5 separate regions of the Homo sapiens genome follow, and regions 1, 2, 3 and 5 are each linked to region 4. Evidence: promoter capture Hi-C in human tissues and cell types (Jung and others, 2019). All regions are on one chromosome and are shown on one strand. The core of a region is centred on a gene start or on the middle of the fragment in contact, and the rest is flanking DNA. Distances in the headings are between cores, read along the strand shown. Region 1 holds the start of LGALS7B (galectin 7B). Region 2 has its middle 7.2 kb from the start of FBXO17. Region 3 overlaps HNRNPL (heterogeneous nuclear ribonucleoprotein L). Region 4 holds the start of IFNL1 (interferon lambda 1). Region 5 holds the start of MRPS12 (mitochondrial ribosomal protein S12).

Region 1 (2,700 bases), core at 161-2,660, 510 kb before region 4:
TCTCGGCTCACTACAACGTCCGCCTCCCCAGCTCAAGCAATTCTCCTGCCTCAGCCTCCCAGGTAGCTGGGATTACAGGTGTCCACCACCACACCTGGCCAATTTTTTGTATTTTCTATAGAGAAGGGGTTTCACCATGTTGGCCAGGCTGGTCTTGAACTCCTGACCTCAAGTGATCCACCTACCTTGGCCTCCCAAAGTGCTGGGATTACAGGCGTGAGCTACCATGCCCAGCCAGGAGTGGTTTCTGTTCAGCTCCCACACCATCCCTGCCTTTCAGAAACAGATTTCAGTCCTGCCCGCCCCCCCCCCCCCCCCCGCCTCCCCCAGTCTACTTCCCCAACCCTGGATTCTCTTCTAGAGTCTTGGGCCCAAGCGGGCTATATTGGGGCTGGCGGGAGGGTCCCCACCTTGCTCTGCTTTTGATCTAGGTGGTGATGGAATGCTAGGCCACCCACCACCCTAAAACCCACCTCATCCTGACCTGCAAAATTGGTGGGAAGATGGTAACAGTCCTGGAAGGAGGAACAAGAGAGACTTGAAGGAGAGAAGTGGGACAGGAATACGCGGTAGACAGTTATAGACAGAGACAAACAGAGCCAGACAGCCAGCCCCAGAGACAGAACCCACAGGAGAGGCACGCCCAGAGGTGAGGAAAGGCAGAGGTTGGGGCAATGGGTCCTGCCCGGCTTGTGGAAAATCACTTCCCATCCCAGCCTCAGCCTCCTTCTCTGTACAATGGGGGTGACCCATGCTTCTCTCTGTTGGAATGGTGGGGTCCCAATCAGTGATTTCCTGCATATCCTGGGCAGCCCAAGGGCCTGGGAAATGACAAGCGTAGTCCTAGTGGATCCCCTCCTTTCACCCCTCCTGACTGAGGACTTCCCATGAACCCGGCACACTCCAGGACCCAGGGGTGCAGCACTGAGCCAACCAGGCCGCCCTCCGACCCTGTGAAGTCCCCCTGTCTGGCACTATCGTCGTTGTTGTGGCTGCTGTTCCACTGGAGACTTAGAAGCAGGGATTTCAGCGCAGACATTTCCAGTCTAGGCAGGAGGTTCTCAGCTGGAGAGAAGGGTCTAGAGTTCCCGCTGGGCTTGGCTTCTCAGGACCCAACATGTCTGTGGATAAAATGAGCATGAGAGACTCTCCTGTGTGCCAGGCAGTGGGAAGACAGGGGTGGAGGGGCGGTGGCTCTTATTATCAGCTCCTAGGAGAGGGGCAGTGCACCCGGGCTCTGGGTGATGGGGGGATCAGGGCCCCCAAGAAGAGGCGCCACTCCCACTTCGCCAGGCTTGCCCCAGGGCCAGGGTCCGTGCCAGGTGTGGGTGGTGGGTGGGAAGGGGTGGGGTGAGTCATCAGGGCCAGCCCCGCCCTGCTTTTATTTAAGGTCCCCAGCAGGCCCCACCACCACGGCTGCCCAACCCGGTCCCAGCCATGTCCGTGAGTGCTCCAGGGGCCCGGGGCGGGGCCAAGCAGGGAGGGGGCTGGGGGCTCCTCTTTCAAAGGAGCAAGTGGGCAGTGAGTGTGCCACGGACTGGCCTGGGCTGTGGCCTCCGGGTAACCCCCATCCCGACTGTCCCCTCTACCTCTTTGTGGCTTCCTCTGGGGCCCTCTTTGAGGATCTTTCTGTTTGTCTTTGTTGCTCTCCCCATCTGTTTCCCTGTCTGTTTCTGGTCTCTTTCCTGCCTCTCCGCCACCCTTTCCTCTTCCACTGATTTCTGCCAGTCTCAGCCCTGGTCGGCTCCTCTGAGGGGTGACCCACCTTCTGCCTCCCTCCTTCGGTCTCACCGGCTCACAGTGGCCCCTGCACCCCACTCTTGCAGAACGTCCCCCACAAGTCCTCACTGCCCGAGGGCATCCGCCCTGGCACGGTGCTGAGAATTCGCGGCTTGGTTCCTCCCAATGCCAGCAGGTGAGGCCCCAGGCCCTAGGGGTAAAGGGTACAGGTCTCAGGATCAGCTGACTCCCAATTTTTGCAGTCCAGAAGTAGGGGCCCGAGGCCACCTGTATCCACCAGGCTAGGAGTCCGAGGCCATTTCTGACCTCAAATCTGATGTATTCGTATTTGCCCCCGTGCCTTTGTGGCTGGGGTCCCTAAGTTTCCCTAAGCATTTGAGGTCCCTGGGTAATCTCAGGGTTCCTAGATATAGTCCTATGACTTCCATGTCTGAGTCCCAGGGAACTCTGGAAATACTCCAAGTCCTGGAGACACCCTGGACCCTGGGAGTCCTTGCCAAGCCATCCTTTGACTTCCTGGCTAAGGAACTTCGGGCCTTCTGGATTCTGAGGTACCCTGGAAATACTGGGGTTCCTGGTATTATTCTTTGTCCTGTAGAAGCTGAGGGTTCCCTGAGCATCAGGAGCACCCTGGCTATCACCCAGACCTCCTGGGCAGCTCCCAGGCTCTTTGGAAATGAGGGCACCCTGCCCTAAGCGTAGTGAGTTTGGTCTGGGTAGGTTTCTGCCAAGGGCCTCATGATATTTTGGCTGCCTTGGGAATCTAAGCTCCCTGGTCATTAGTCGCCCACCTCTCCTTCTGCGGTGTGTGCCTGTCTTCAGGTCCCTGTTAATTTGGGGGTACTCTGGGAATGGGGAGTGCCAGCCCATAAGACCTTCACTTTGGTCTGGGCGGTTTATGTTTTGTTTGTTCTTTCGTTTTTTTGTAAGGTGGGGTCTCGCTATGTTGCCCAGGCTGGT
Region 2 (2,700 bases), core at 112-2,611, 310 kb before region 4:
TAGAGAAAAATCTTTTTTTTTTTTTTTTTCAGGCAGAGTCTTTCTCTGTCGCCCAGGCTGTGTGCAGTGGTGCCATCTCGGCTCACTGCAACTTCCGCCTCCCGAGTTCAAGCAATTCTCCTGCCTCAGCCTTCTGAGTAGCTGGGATTACAGGCGCCCACCACCATGCCTGGCTAATTTTTGTATTATTAGTAGAGATGGAGTTTCACCATATTGGCCAGGCTGGTCTCAAACTCCTGACCATGTGATCCACCTGCCTCAGCCTCCCAAAGTGTTGGGATTACAGGTGTGAACCACCGTGCCCGGCCAGGAAGATCTTCTGAACAAAAAAGGAAACTTGCAAGGAATCCTCTTGGAAAATGTAGGGCACAAAAAATATCCATTTAGATATAAATAGAGACATAGAGACACAACCCCTGGTAGGGATAGAGACAGGTACACACACACACAGAACTGAAGGCACACACACACACACACACACACACACACACACACTTTTTTTTGTTTTGTTTTGAGACAAGGTCTTGCTCTGTTGCCCAGGCTAGAGTGCAGTGGCATGATCATGGCTCATGACAGCCTCGACCTCCTGGGTTCAAGTGATCCTCCCACCTCAACCTCCCAAGTAGCTGGGACTACAGGTGTGCACCACCACACCTGGCTTTTTTTTTTTTTTTTGGGGTAAAGATAGGGTATCACCATGTTCCCAGGGCTGGTCTCCTGGGCTCAAGCAATCCTTCCGCCTCAGCTTCCCAAAGTGCTGGGATTACAGGCGTGAGCCACAATACCTAGACAGGCACAGACTCATAGAGTAAGCTCCAAAAAAATTCTCAAGCCACATGCCACCTGGAGAGACTACTGTCTGCAAGGGTGTCACAGGAGGCCGTGTGGGGGTCTGGGTTGCCTCCCACCTAGATACTCCAGGATAATCTTCTTGTCTCAAAACCTATAACTTCGGCCAGGTGTGGTGGCTCACACCTGTAATTTCAGCAGTTTGGGAAGCTGGGGCAGGAGGATAACTTTAGCTTAGGAATTCGAGACCAGCCTGGGCAACGTAGGGAGACCTCGTCTCTAAAAAACAAAGATCCCCCCACCCACCTTAACGTCATTATATCTGCAAAGTTATTTTTGCCATATAAGGAAACATTCACAAATTCCAGAGGTTAGGACCTGGATAATTTTGGCAGAAGGGGGGATTATTCAGTCTACCATACACCATAGTTATTTATTTAAATTTTTTTTGAGACACAGTCTCACTCTGTTACCCAGGGTGGAGTGCAGTGGTGCGATCTTGGCTCATTGCAATCTCCACCTCCTGGGTTCCAGCAATTCTCCTGCCTCAGCCTCCCAAGTAGCTGGGATTATAGGTGCACTCTGCCACGCCTGGCTAATTTTTGTATTTTTAGTAGAGATGGGGTTTTACTATGTTGGCCAGGCTGGTCTCAAACTCCTGACCTCATGTGATCCACCTGCCTTGGCCTCCCAAAATGCTGGGATTATAGGCGTGAGCTACCATGCCTGGGCTCTTTTTTTTTTTTTTTTTTTTTTTTTTTTTTGAGATGGAGTCTTGATCTGTTGCTCAGGCTGGAGTGCAATGGCATGATCTTGGCTCACTGCAACCTCCATCTCCCAGGTTCAAGCAATTTTCTTGCCTCAGCCTCCCTAGTAGCTGGGACTACAGCCATGTACCACCACACCCAGCTAATTTTTTTGTATTTTTAGTAGAGATGGGGTTTCACTGGTGTTGGCCAGGCTGGTCTCCTGACCTCAAGTAATCCTCGGCCTCCCAAAGTGCTGGGAATACAGGCATCAGCAACCACGCCTGTCGTCTTGCTATGTTGCCCAGGCTGGTCTTGAACTCCTGACCTCAAGTGATCCTCCCACCTCGGCCTCCCAAGGTGCTGTGATTACAGGCATGAACCACCATGTCTGGCTCGGACCATAGTTCTTTTATAATAATAGTGGTCATCATTCTAGTAGTTGTTATCTAATCACATTTTATAATCATTAGTTCTAAAATATTAAGTGCCAAAATAAATAAATAAAAAAGAAAAAAAATAAAAATAAAATAAAATCTTAAGTGCCAGGTTCTGGGCTAAGAGATCTAGGTACAGTATCACATCTAATTCTTCCAGCAACTCTCTGGAATAGGGACCTTTGCTACCCTGAAGAAACAAGTAGAGACAATAGCGCTAAGAAACAGAGAAGCCTAGGCCGGGTGCAGTGGCTCACGCCTGTAATCCCAACACTTTGGGAGGCCTAGGTGGGTAGATCACCTGAGGTCAGGAGTTTGAGACCAGCCTGGCCAACATGATGAAACTCCATTTCTATTAAAAATACAAAAAATTAGCCAGGCGTGGTAGCGGGTGCCTGTAATCCCAGCTACCTGGGGGACTGAGATAGGAGAATCGAGGTAACGGTTGCAGTGAGCAGAGAGAGTGCCACTGCACTCCAGCATGGGTGACAGAGCAAGACTCCATCTCAGAAAAAAAAATAAATAAAGAAATATAAAAATACAAAAAGTTATCCAGGCATGGTGGTACATGTCTGTAATCCCAGCTACTTGGGAGGCTGAGGCAGGGGAATCACTTGAACCTGGGAGGTGGAGGTTGCGGTGAACCAAGATCGCACCATTGCACTCTGGCCTGGGTGACAGAGCAAGACTCTGTCTCAAAAAAAGAAATTATATATATATATATATAT
Region 3 (2,700 bases), core at 164-2,663, 450 kb before region 4:
CAGATTATGTTGGCAGCCGGTGACTGCAGAAAAAATAAAAATATCAAAACAGAAAAAAAACAAGGCCCTCCCCAAACCAAATGACTTAAAAAACAAAACCCATATGGCGAGGAATGGAGAGAGGATCCTATTGTCTTGGAGGCCCATGGAATCTACTTCCGTCTATGAAACGTTCTCCGAAAAGAGCATCGCTCGCTGGCTGGCTGGGACAGCTCTGTTCTCTGTGTTTCCTACTTCTGTGTACATTCTCGGGTTCAAGTTTGCTTGGATTTTGACCTTTTTTTTAATGTTTAATAAAAAAAGCAGTGTCTGCTGCCATGTTGCGTCTCTTTCTCTCTTTGTCTCTGTATGCCTCTGTCTCTGTGCTTGTAGCTGTTCCTTGGAGCGCGGTGTGGTGTTCTTGATGTAGTGAGCTCAAGTCTGCGGCTGTTTCTGGGGACGTGGTGGAGGCTGCATGTTCTGTTCTCTCCAGGAAGAGCTAGTGGTTTTCTACCCTGTGTGTTGGTGAGCAATGTGCAGAGGCAGAGCCGCTGAAGTATGGTTCCTGAGGGGTGGCGAAGCACCGCCCTCACTCCAGGTCACCTCATCAGCCCTCGTTTTTTTTTGGGCCCCAGCCTTGGGGCTGCCAAAGCTGAGAGGCATCAAAACCAATGCACAGCCAGCCCCCTGCCACTAGCCCCTGCCGGTCTGCACATCTTCTATTTATGTTCCTTGGAGAAGAAATGGTTGTTGCCATGTTTCTGTTAGCAGTCATGTAATGCCATTGCCCGCTCTGGTACATTCACTTGGTCACCAATTTGCCTCTGACCTTTGGAGGGAGCAGCCAGGCCCACAGGGCCCACTGTGAGGATCCTGGGGAAGAGTCTAGCCCACCCTGCCCACTGCTTCCCAGATGCAAGGGCGAGCAAGACAGGCCTGCCTAGGAATGGGGGGCTCTGGCCTCTCAGGGCCTGTGCGATGTCAGCATCGAGCCTCCTCCCTCAGCCCATGGCCTGGTCCGACGTATCAGACCAAGACAGACACCGAGATGGATGGTCTTGTTGGGGGGCTGCCGCTGTTTCTCATAGGCAATCCTCCACCTCTCCCTGCTACCAAAGGCAAACCATTCTTGACAGACACTAGGAAGGGAGTTGTCCATTTGGGCCACCTGCAGAGATGTTGCGTCCCCTCTACAAATGATGTGAGGCATGTCCGCCCTGGTCCAATCCAGAGTGTCTCACCTCCACAGGGTCAGCTTGCTCACAAGGCTCACTGCAAGAGCCCAGGAGACCTCATCGCCCCCCAACACTGTCACTCCCCCAAATCAGACCCTCTCAACAGCGCAGAACAAGAGGACAATTCCTGGTCCAGCAAGAATGGAGTGAGTGACCCTCACCAGACTCTCAAAGGAGCCACTGCTGGTTTCTAAGGCCGCCCCCACGCCTCATCCTCAGTGAGGCCCTGCTCCCCGCCCATCCAGGCTTCTGCCTTGCCTCTGTATCCTGAGCAGCATCGGAGGGCCCCAAGCAGCAGTGAAGACCCATGGAGGCCTCTCACTCCCCCATCCCACTAGGGTGTCCAAGTGCTGACCCCAAGGCCCTCCCATGTCCATGGGGGGCCCAATGGCATTACATAACCCTGAGCCCAGGCCTATTAAGTGCACTAGTCGAGTGAAAGCAAGGCGGGTATGTTTAGAACAAAGTGGTCGTCAAGATTACCTTGTCCACTGAGATTGGGGTTTGTGTAGTCCCAAGTATCCTGATCATTCTTGAACACATTCAAGCGTGTAGGCTGCAAGGACAGGACAAGACAAGACTTGAGGTCAGCCATGCCCCAGCTCACCTGGAAGCTGACAAGGGGCAGTCAGTCACCTCCCAGATGTACCTTTGCGTATTCGATCTTCAGAGTGCAACAGCCAGAATAGATATCAGCCCCATTGAGAGAGGCCTTGGCCCGCTGGGCACTTTGAACTGAGTCAAATGTGAGTCAAGTTAAGGAAAGTCCCATCACAGGAGATCTTTGAGAAGGGCTTCAAGTTACCCCAGAGTGTGATAAGGACAAGGTAGCACCCCAAGACTGTGGTACAGACGGAAGCTTTGGGATTAGCTCACTGCCCAGCCACTAGCCTCAGGTTAAGAGACCAAAACGGTGTTGATGGACTCAACGCTGCCCCGGGTGAGCAGTCACTGGCCAGAGTTCTCTCATAATCTGCACCCCGACCCATGGCCACCAGCAACCTCTTCTGCCACACCACTTTCTCCGTCTCAGCCCTCTCACACCCTTCGACTAAATCTGAAACATCAACTCGATTACAGCTCTGCCCTGAAAGTCCATCAGTGGCTTTTTCCTGCCCCTGCCCCAAGCATCGCAACGCTGTCTAGGATGCCCTAAAAGCTTCTTCCAATGTCTATTCCAAACCCGTCTGCTTGCCAGCCACTTTGCAATCCTCAGGTCTTTCAATTTCTCCATCCAACACAAGCTCCTTCTGACTTTACAACCTTTGCAGAGGCTGTTTCCTCCACCTTGAGTATAAGCTCCTATTTGCTCATAGGACATCACCTCCTCAGCAACCTTCACACATGCCCCACCTTTTTTTTTTTTTTTTGGATATGGAGTCTCGCTGTGTTGCCCAGGATGGAATACAGTGGCACAGTCTCGGCTCACTGCAATCTCCGCCTCCCAGGCTCAAGCGATTCTCCTGCCTCAGCCTCCAGAGTAGCT
Region 4 (2,700 bases), core at 121-2,620:
GGCGTGAGCCACCATGCCCAGCTGCACATCCCAGCATTCAAAGACCAAAGAGCCTGGAGTTCTGATGTTTAAGGGCAGGTGCAGGGTGTCCCAGCTCATAAGAGAGAGCAAATTCTCCTTTCCTCTGCCTTTTTGTTCTATTCAGGCCCTCGGCCAATTGGATGGTGCCCACCACATTGGGTAACAACGGGTCTTCCTTACTCAGTCCATTGATTCAAATGCCAATCTCTTCTGGAAACACCCCAGAGTCATACCCAGAATTAACGCATCACCAGCTATCTGATAAACTTAACCAGTCAAGGTGACACCTAAAATTAACCATCACAATTATAAAAATAACTACTCAGAGAAACATTAGGAGCATGAACTGAAATTAGTTAATGGGACATTCTTAAACCAATGGCAGAAGCTCCTTCTTGGCCAGGAGCAGTGGCTCATGCCTTTAATACTAGCACTTTGCGAGGCTGAAGCAGGAGGATGGCTTAAGGCCAGGAGTTCAAGACTGGCCTGGGCAACATAGTGAGACCCCTATCTCTACAAAAATAAATAAATAAATAATAAAGTAAGGTGGTGGCTCACGCCTGTAATCCCAGCACTTTGGGAGGCCAAGGCAGGCAGATCATCTGAAGTCAGGAGTTCGAAGCCAGCGTGACCAACATAGTAAAACCCAGTCTCTACTAAAAATACAAAAACTAGCCAGGCGTGATGGCATGCACCTGTAATCCCAACTACTTAGGAGGCTGAGGCAGGAGAATCGCTTCAACTCGGGAGGCAGAAGTTGCAGTGAGCCAAGATTGCACCATTGCACTCCAGCCTGGGCAACAAGAGCAAAACTACGTCTCAAAAAATAATAATAACAATAAAATAAAAAACAAGCTTTTTTTTTTTTGAAACAGGATCTCACTCCATCACCCAGGCTGGAGTGCAGTGGCACGATCTTGGCTCACTGCAACCTCCGCCTCCCGGGTTCAAGTGATTCTCATGCCTCGGCCTCCTGAGTAGCTGAGACCACAGGCGCATGCCACCACACCTGGCTAATTTAGAATAAAAAAGAAGCTTCCTCTCTGCCACTCAGGTAGCCTTATCCCTAATCTCAGCCTCCGTCAGGGACTCCCTGAGGCCAGTTGGCTGAAAGCTGCCCAGGGAGTTCTAAGGATTTCAGTTTCTCTTTCCTTCTTGATGCAGCTCCCAGCTCACTTGGCCCTGCCCACACCTGTTCCCTCATCAGGCTCCCAGACGGGCCCCGCCCACTCATGCCTCTTAAGTCAAAGTGGAAATTCTCATTTCCAATTACCTTTTCACTTTACACACATCATCTTGGATTGCCCATTTTGCGTGGCTAAAAAGCAGAGCCATGCCGCTGGGGAAGCAGTTGCGATTTAGCCATGGCTGCAGCTTGGACCGTGGTGCTGGTGACTTTGGTGCTAGGCTTGGCCGTGGCAGGCCCTGTCCCCACTTCCAAGCCCACCACAACTGGGAAGGGCTGCCACATTGGCAGGTTCAAATCTCTGTCACCACAGGAGCTAGCGAGCTTCAAGAAGGCCAGGGACGCCTTGGTGAGTTCCTGTTGCTGTGGATGAACCACTTCTACGGGTGTCCCAATTACTGCCCTTCTACTGTGGGCTAGCCTCTAGCCTTCCAACTATGGCAAACCTCTATCCTTTCTGCACTGGGTTAAACCCATGCTGTCAGGCCAACTTCATCCTTGCTGCTATGAGCTAGCTTCCAGCCATCCTGCTGTGGGCTAACCCCTGCCCTTGCTCTCTAGGAAGAGTCACTCAAGCTGAAAAACTGGAGTTGCAGCTCTCCTGTCTTCCCCGGGAATTGGGACCTGAGGCTTCTCCAGGTGAGCTGAAAGTCAGGCCCCCTTCACCCTTCCCTTGACCCTCTCCCCCCTCTTCTTAAGTGGCCCCTTAGCCTTCTTTGTTTCCCTTGTCCTTCACTCTCTTGGACCTCTCCTCACCTGTCCTGTGCCCCTGCCACTTCAAAACTGCTCTCTTGACTCTGTCCTTCCCCTGGGTCCCTTTTATCATCTCCCATCGGCCCCACTTCCCTAGCTCGCTCACCTGTCCCTGTCACTTCCACTCTCACTCTTCATTTCTCTCCCAAATGTCTCCAGTCTGTCGCCCACCTGTGCCTTTCGTCCTGCTCCACTTCTCCCTGTCTGTTCCCAACACTGACCCCCTCTCCCTCTCACCTGCCTCTGTCACCTGTCCCTCATTATCTCTCACTGACATTCATCCAGCTCATGCTCCCCCCTCATCCACCCTTCTCTTTTTTTTTTTTTTTTTTTTTTTTTTGAGACAGAGTCTTGCTCTATGGCCCAGGCTGGAGTGCAGTGGCATGATCTCGGTTCACTGCAACCTCTGCCTCCCGGGTTCAAGCAATTATCCTGCCTCAGCCTCCCGAGTAGCTGGGATTACAGGCATGTGCCATGATGCCCAGCTAATTTTTGTATTTTTAGCAGAGACGGGGTTTCACTATGTTGGCCAGGCTTGGTCTCGAAATCCTGACCTCAGGTGATCCACCCGCCTCGGCCTCCCAAAGTGCTGGGATTACAGGCGTGAGCCACCACACCCAGCCCTACCCTTCTTCTCTGTGCATGCAACTGTCCCTCTCTTACTGTGCCCCCAACCTGCTTTCTCCTCACCCGTCCCCACCCCGCCCCAGAGAACTTCTGTGACCCCCGTAAGTCCCCTT
Region 5 (2,700 bases), core at 142-2,641, 370 kb before region 4:
ACCCTATCTCAAAAAAAAAAAAAAAAAAAGTGGATTCTAGGCCAGAAAGCACAGGTTAAAATTCCCACTCTGCCACTTCCCAGTTGCATGACCTAGCGCAAGTGAATTAGCTTCTCGAAGCCTTAGTTTCCCCTCTGATAAAATGGGAGAAATAATGGCACCTACTTCATAGAGTTGCTGTGAAAATTAAACGAGGTTAAAGTGAATAAAGCACTTCAAACAGGCTGGGAGGGGAGTCCAAGAGAGGAATGGGAAGACGTGGGGACCCCACTATCGTTAGCACCTCAACACAGAGATATTGTGAACCCGGTCCTAATTCCCTTTTATAAGTGCTAGCAATTTTATTATTATTCACCGCATATTTGCAACATCTAGAACACCGGAATATAGCAGTTGCACCTTAAGTATCAGTTTAATAGAACCATTCATTAATGGATTCATTCATTCATTCATTAACTCTATTTAACTGCCTGCTATGTGTGGCGGAGGTGCACAACTCTCCCTACCTCTCTCTCTAAACGCAAGAGCTCCACCACACCCCAGCCCTGACCCCGTCCGATTCACACTTGGCTCCCCATTTTCCTTTGTGGTCTTAGGGAAAGGCTGGCATGAGGTTGCAGCACGGAGGGCAATGTCACATAGCAAGTTCCTAAAGGACAGGAGGTACCCAGCGAGCAGTATGAAACAAGCGCATAATGGGTGTCCAGGACACAGTAGGCATTCTTGGCACATAGTAGGGCCTCAGCACTCACTGGACAACTGGCACATAAGTGGGTGCCATGCACAAGACGTTGGCTAACTTGGGAAATAACTAAAATTCCTACTACAGGTTCGCCCCCTGCCGGAGGGCATCTTGCAAACCCAATTCTTCCGTAAAGCAAACGTCTGCGCCCCCCGGCCGGCGCAGGCGCACTCACGATCGCGGGCAGGTCCGCCGAGCGCAGCTCCCCCTTGCGGAGCTCCAGGGCGTGTGCGGCCTCTTCTGGGCATGCGCAGAACCGCTCTATGTCCAGCTGAGGGAGTGCGCTGTAGCCCTCGCGCGCATACTCGTACAGGAGGTTCCGGTTTCGTTTCTCTGTAGTGAAACTTCTCCTTGGACTATCGTTGGAGATGCAGCCTCCCCGGGGCCGGAACCCCCGACGAGTCAGCAAAGGCCACAAGCGCCGCGCCATGGACGCAGCCATCTTGGACCGGGAACAAGGCGGCACTTCGTCCCGCCCACTCCGCGTTTAGACCAATTGCAAGGCAGCGAACCTGACCGTGACGAGCCAATCAGATCCTGAGGAAAGTTGACCGCGATAGAGTCCTTCGTCGCCCAATCGTCGTCTGTGTCCCGCCTCTTCAGTGACGCGAGGCAGAACCAGCCAATCCCTGCACGGATAGCGCCCGGAAGAGGCTAGAAGCTGGATTCAGCGTGTCCGCGACCTCACCTTTAGGTCCTGTGAGGTCGGTGGAATCCTGGGGTCCTCCAAATCTACCAGGCCATCTCCCCAGTTTCCCAGTTCTTCCTGCGTGCGGGCGAGAGTGGTTGGGCCCTCGGGAACCCACTCAGAGCGAGGCTAAATTTACGGAGGGACTTTCTGTTAGCAGCATGAGGGCCTGTGGTTAGACCTATAGAGGTATTTCCTTTGATTTAAGCCAGAAAGTCCTGAGAGCGGATCGGGGAGCATTTGCGGATCGGTCACTTTTTCCTCCTTTCTGAGTCTCTTATCCCCTACCACAGGGACGGCCCAGGTGGCAGGATGTCCTGGTCTGGCCTTCTCCATGGCCTCAACACGTCCCTAACTTGTGGTAAGTGGGGGACTTGGGCTTCAGGGACGAGGCTAGAGGGGGAGGGTTATTCGCTCTTGGACTTGTGTGCCTCCGTCGGAGCCCCGAGGGAAACGGGGGTGGAAAAACACGGTGGGGTTTTGGCAGAGCTAGGGCTGCTAGAGCAAGAGGTGGGAAGCAGCTGCATGGAGGGCTACTGCGTGTCAAGCGGCGTTTGGGTCAGTTTTATTATTTATTTATTTAAGATCTCCCTCTGTCGCCCAGGCTGAAGTGCAGCGGTGTGATCACAGCTCACTGCAGTCTCGACCTCCTGGGCTCAAGTGATCCTCCCGCCTCAGCCTCCCAAGTAGCTGGGACCACAGGCCTGCAGAACCACAACCAGCTAACTTTTTGATTCTTTGTAGAGAGGGAGGTCTCCCTGTGTCGCCCAGTCTGGCCTTAACTCCTGAGCTCAAGTGACCCTCCACAGCCTCCAAAAGTGCTAGGATTACATGCATGAGCCACTGAGCCTACTATTATTTTAAACAGCATTAAAAATAATGCTTCCTGGCCAGCCGTGGTGGCTCACGCCTGTAATCCCAGCACTTTGAGAGGCCGAGGTCAGGAGTTCGAGACCAGCCTGACCAACATGGTGAAACCCCGTCTCTACTTAAAAATACGAAGATTAGCCGAGCGTGGTGGTGGGTGCCTGTAGTCCCAGCTGCTCAGGAGGCTGAGACAGGAGAATTGCTTGAACCCAGGAGGCAGAGGTTGCAGTGGGCCAAGATTGAGGTACTGCACTCCAGCCTGGGCGACAGAGTGAGACTTTGTCTCAAAAAAAAAAAAGAAAAAAAAAAAAAAGGTAATGCTTCCTTGAAGAATAAAGAGTTACTTTTGTCTGTAGATAACATTAGATGTGAACAAATGCATCTTTGTAAAGTGCTTTAAACA

What was found. The method cuts DNA at HindIII sites, captures the fragments that hold promoters and counts their contacts. A contact is called where the count stands out against the background at its distance.
Region 1: a contact is called between the fragment with the promoter of LGALS7B here and the fragment with the promoter of IFNL1 in region 4, in 2 of the 25 tissues and cell types used here (heart left ventricle and mesenchymal stem cells).
Region 2: a contact is called between a fragment that was not itself captured here and the fragment with the promoter of IFNL1 in region 4, in 2 of the 25 tissues and cell types used here (IMR-90 fibroblasts and mesenchymal stem cells).
Region 3: a fragment that was not itself captured here is called in contact with the fragment with the promoter of IFNL1 in region 4 in 1 of the 25 tissues and cell types used here (thymus).
Region 5: the fragment with the promoter of MRPS12 here is called in contact with the fragment with the promoter of IFNL1 in region 4 in 2 of the 25 tissues and cell types used here (heart left ventricle and mesenchymal stem cells).

What each region holds. Positions count from the first base shown.
Region 1 is chr19:38,787,790-38,790,489 of GRCh38, forward strand. It overlaps LGALS7B (galectin 7B), which reads left to right and starts at 1,411. Exons shown (of 4, transcript NM_001042507.4): 1 at 1,411-1,443; 2 at 1,827-1,915. The coding sequence starts at 1,438. The HindIII fragment of the contact is 15,298 bases long and covers 1-2,700 here.
Region 2 is chr19:38,981,611-38,984,310 of GRCh38, forward strand. No RefSeq gene overlaps it. Among named protein-coding and RNA genes, the nearest start is that of FBXO17, 7.2 kb to the left of the region's middle. The HindIII fragment of the contact is 8,720 bases long and covers 1-2,700 here.
Region 3 is chr19:38,842,145-38,844,844 of GRCh38, forward strand. It overlaps HNRNPL (heterogeneous nuclear ribonucleoprotein L), which reads right to left. Exons shown (of 13, transcript NM_001533.3): 5 at 1,864-1,960; 6 at 1,698-1,770. Among named protein-coding and RNA genes, the nearest start is that of HNRNPL, 6.5 kb to the right of the region's middle. RefSeq lists enhancers at 605-684, 767-1,267. The HindIII fragment of the contact is 4,246 bases long and covers 1-2,700 here.
Region 4 is chr19:39,295,037-39,297,736 of GRCh38, forward strand. IFNL1 (interferon lambda 1) reads left to right here and starts at 1,371. Exons shown (of 5, transcript NM_172140.2): 1 at 1,371-1,556; 2 at 1,769-1,846. The coding sequence starts at 1,386. The HindIII fragment of the contact is 11,779 bases long and covers 268-2,700 here.
Region 5 is chr19:38,929,553-38,932,252 of GRCh38, forward strand. MRPS12 (mitochondrial ribosomal protein S12) reads left to right here and starts at 1,392. Exons shown (of 3, transcript NM_033362.4): 1 at 1,392-1,446; 2 at 1,724-1,791. The coding sequence starts at 1,743. SARS2 (seryl-tRNA synthetase 2, mitochondrial) reads right to left here and starts at 1,211. Exons shown (of 16, transcript NM_017827.4): 1 at 918-1,211. The coding sequence starts at 1,184. RefSeq lists an enhancer at 836-1,295. The HindIII fragment of the contact is 13,053 bases long and covers 1-2,700 here.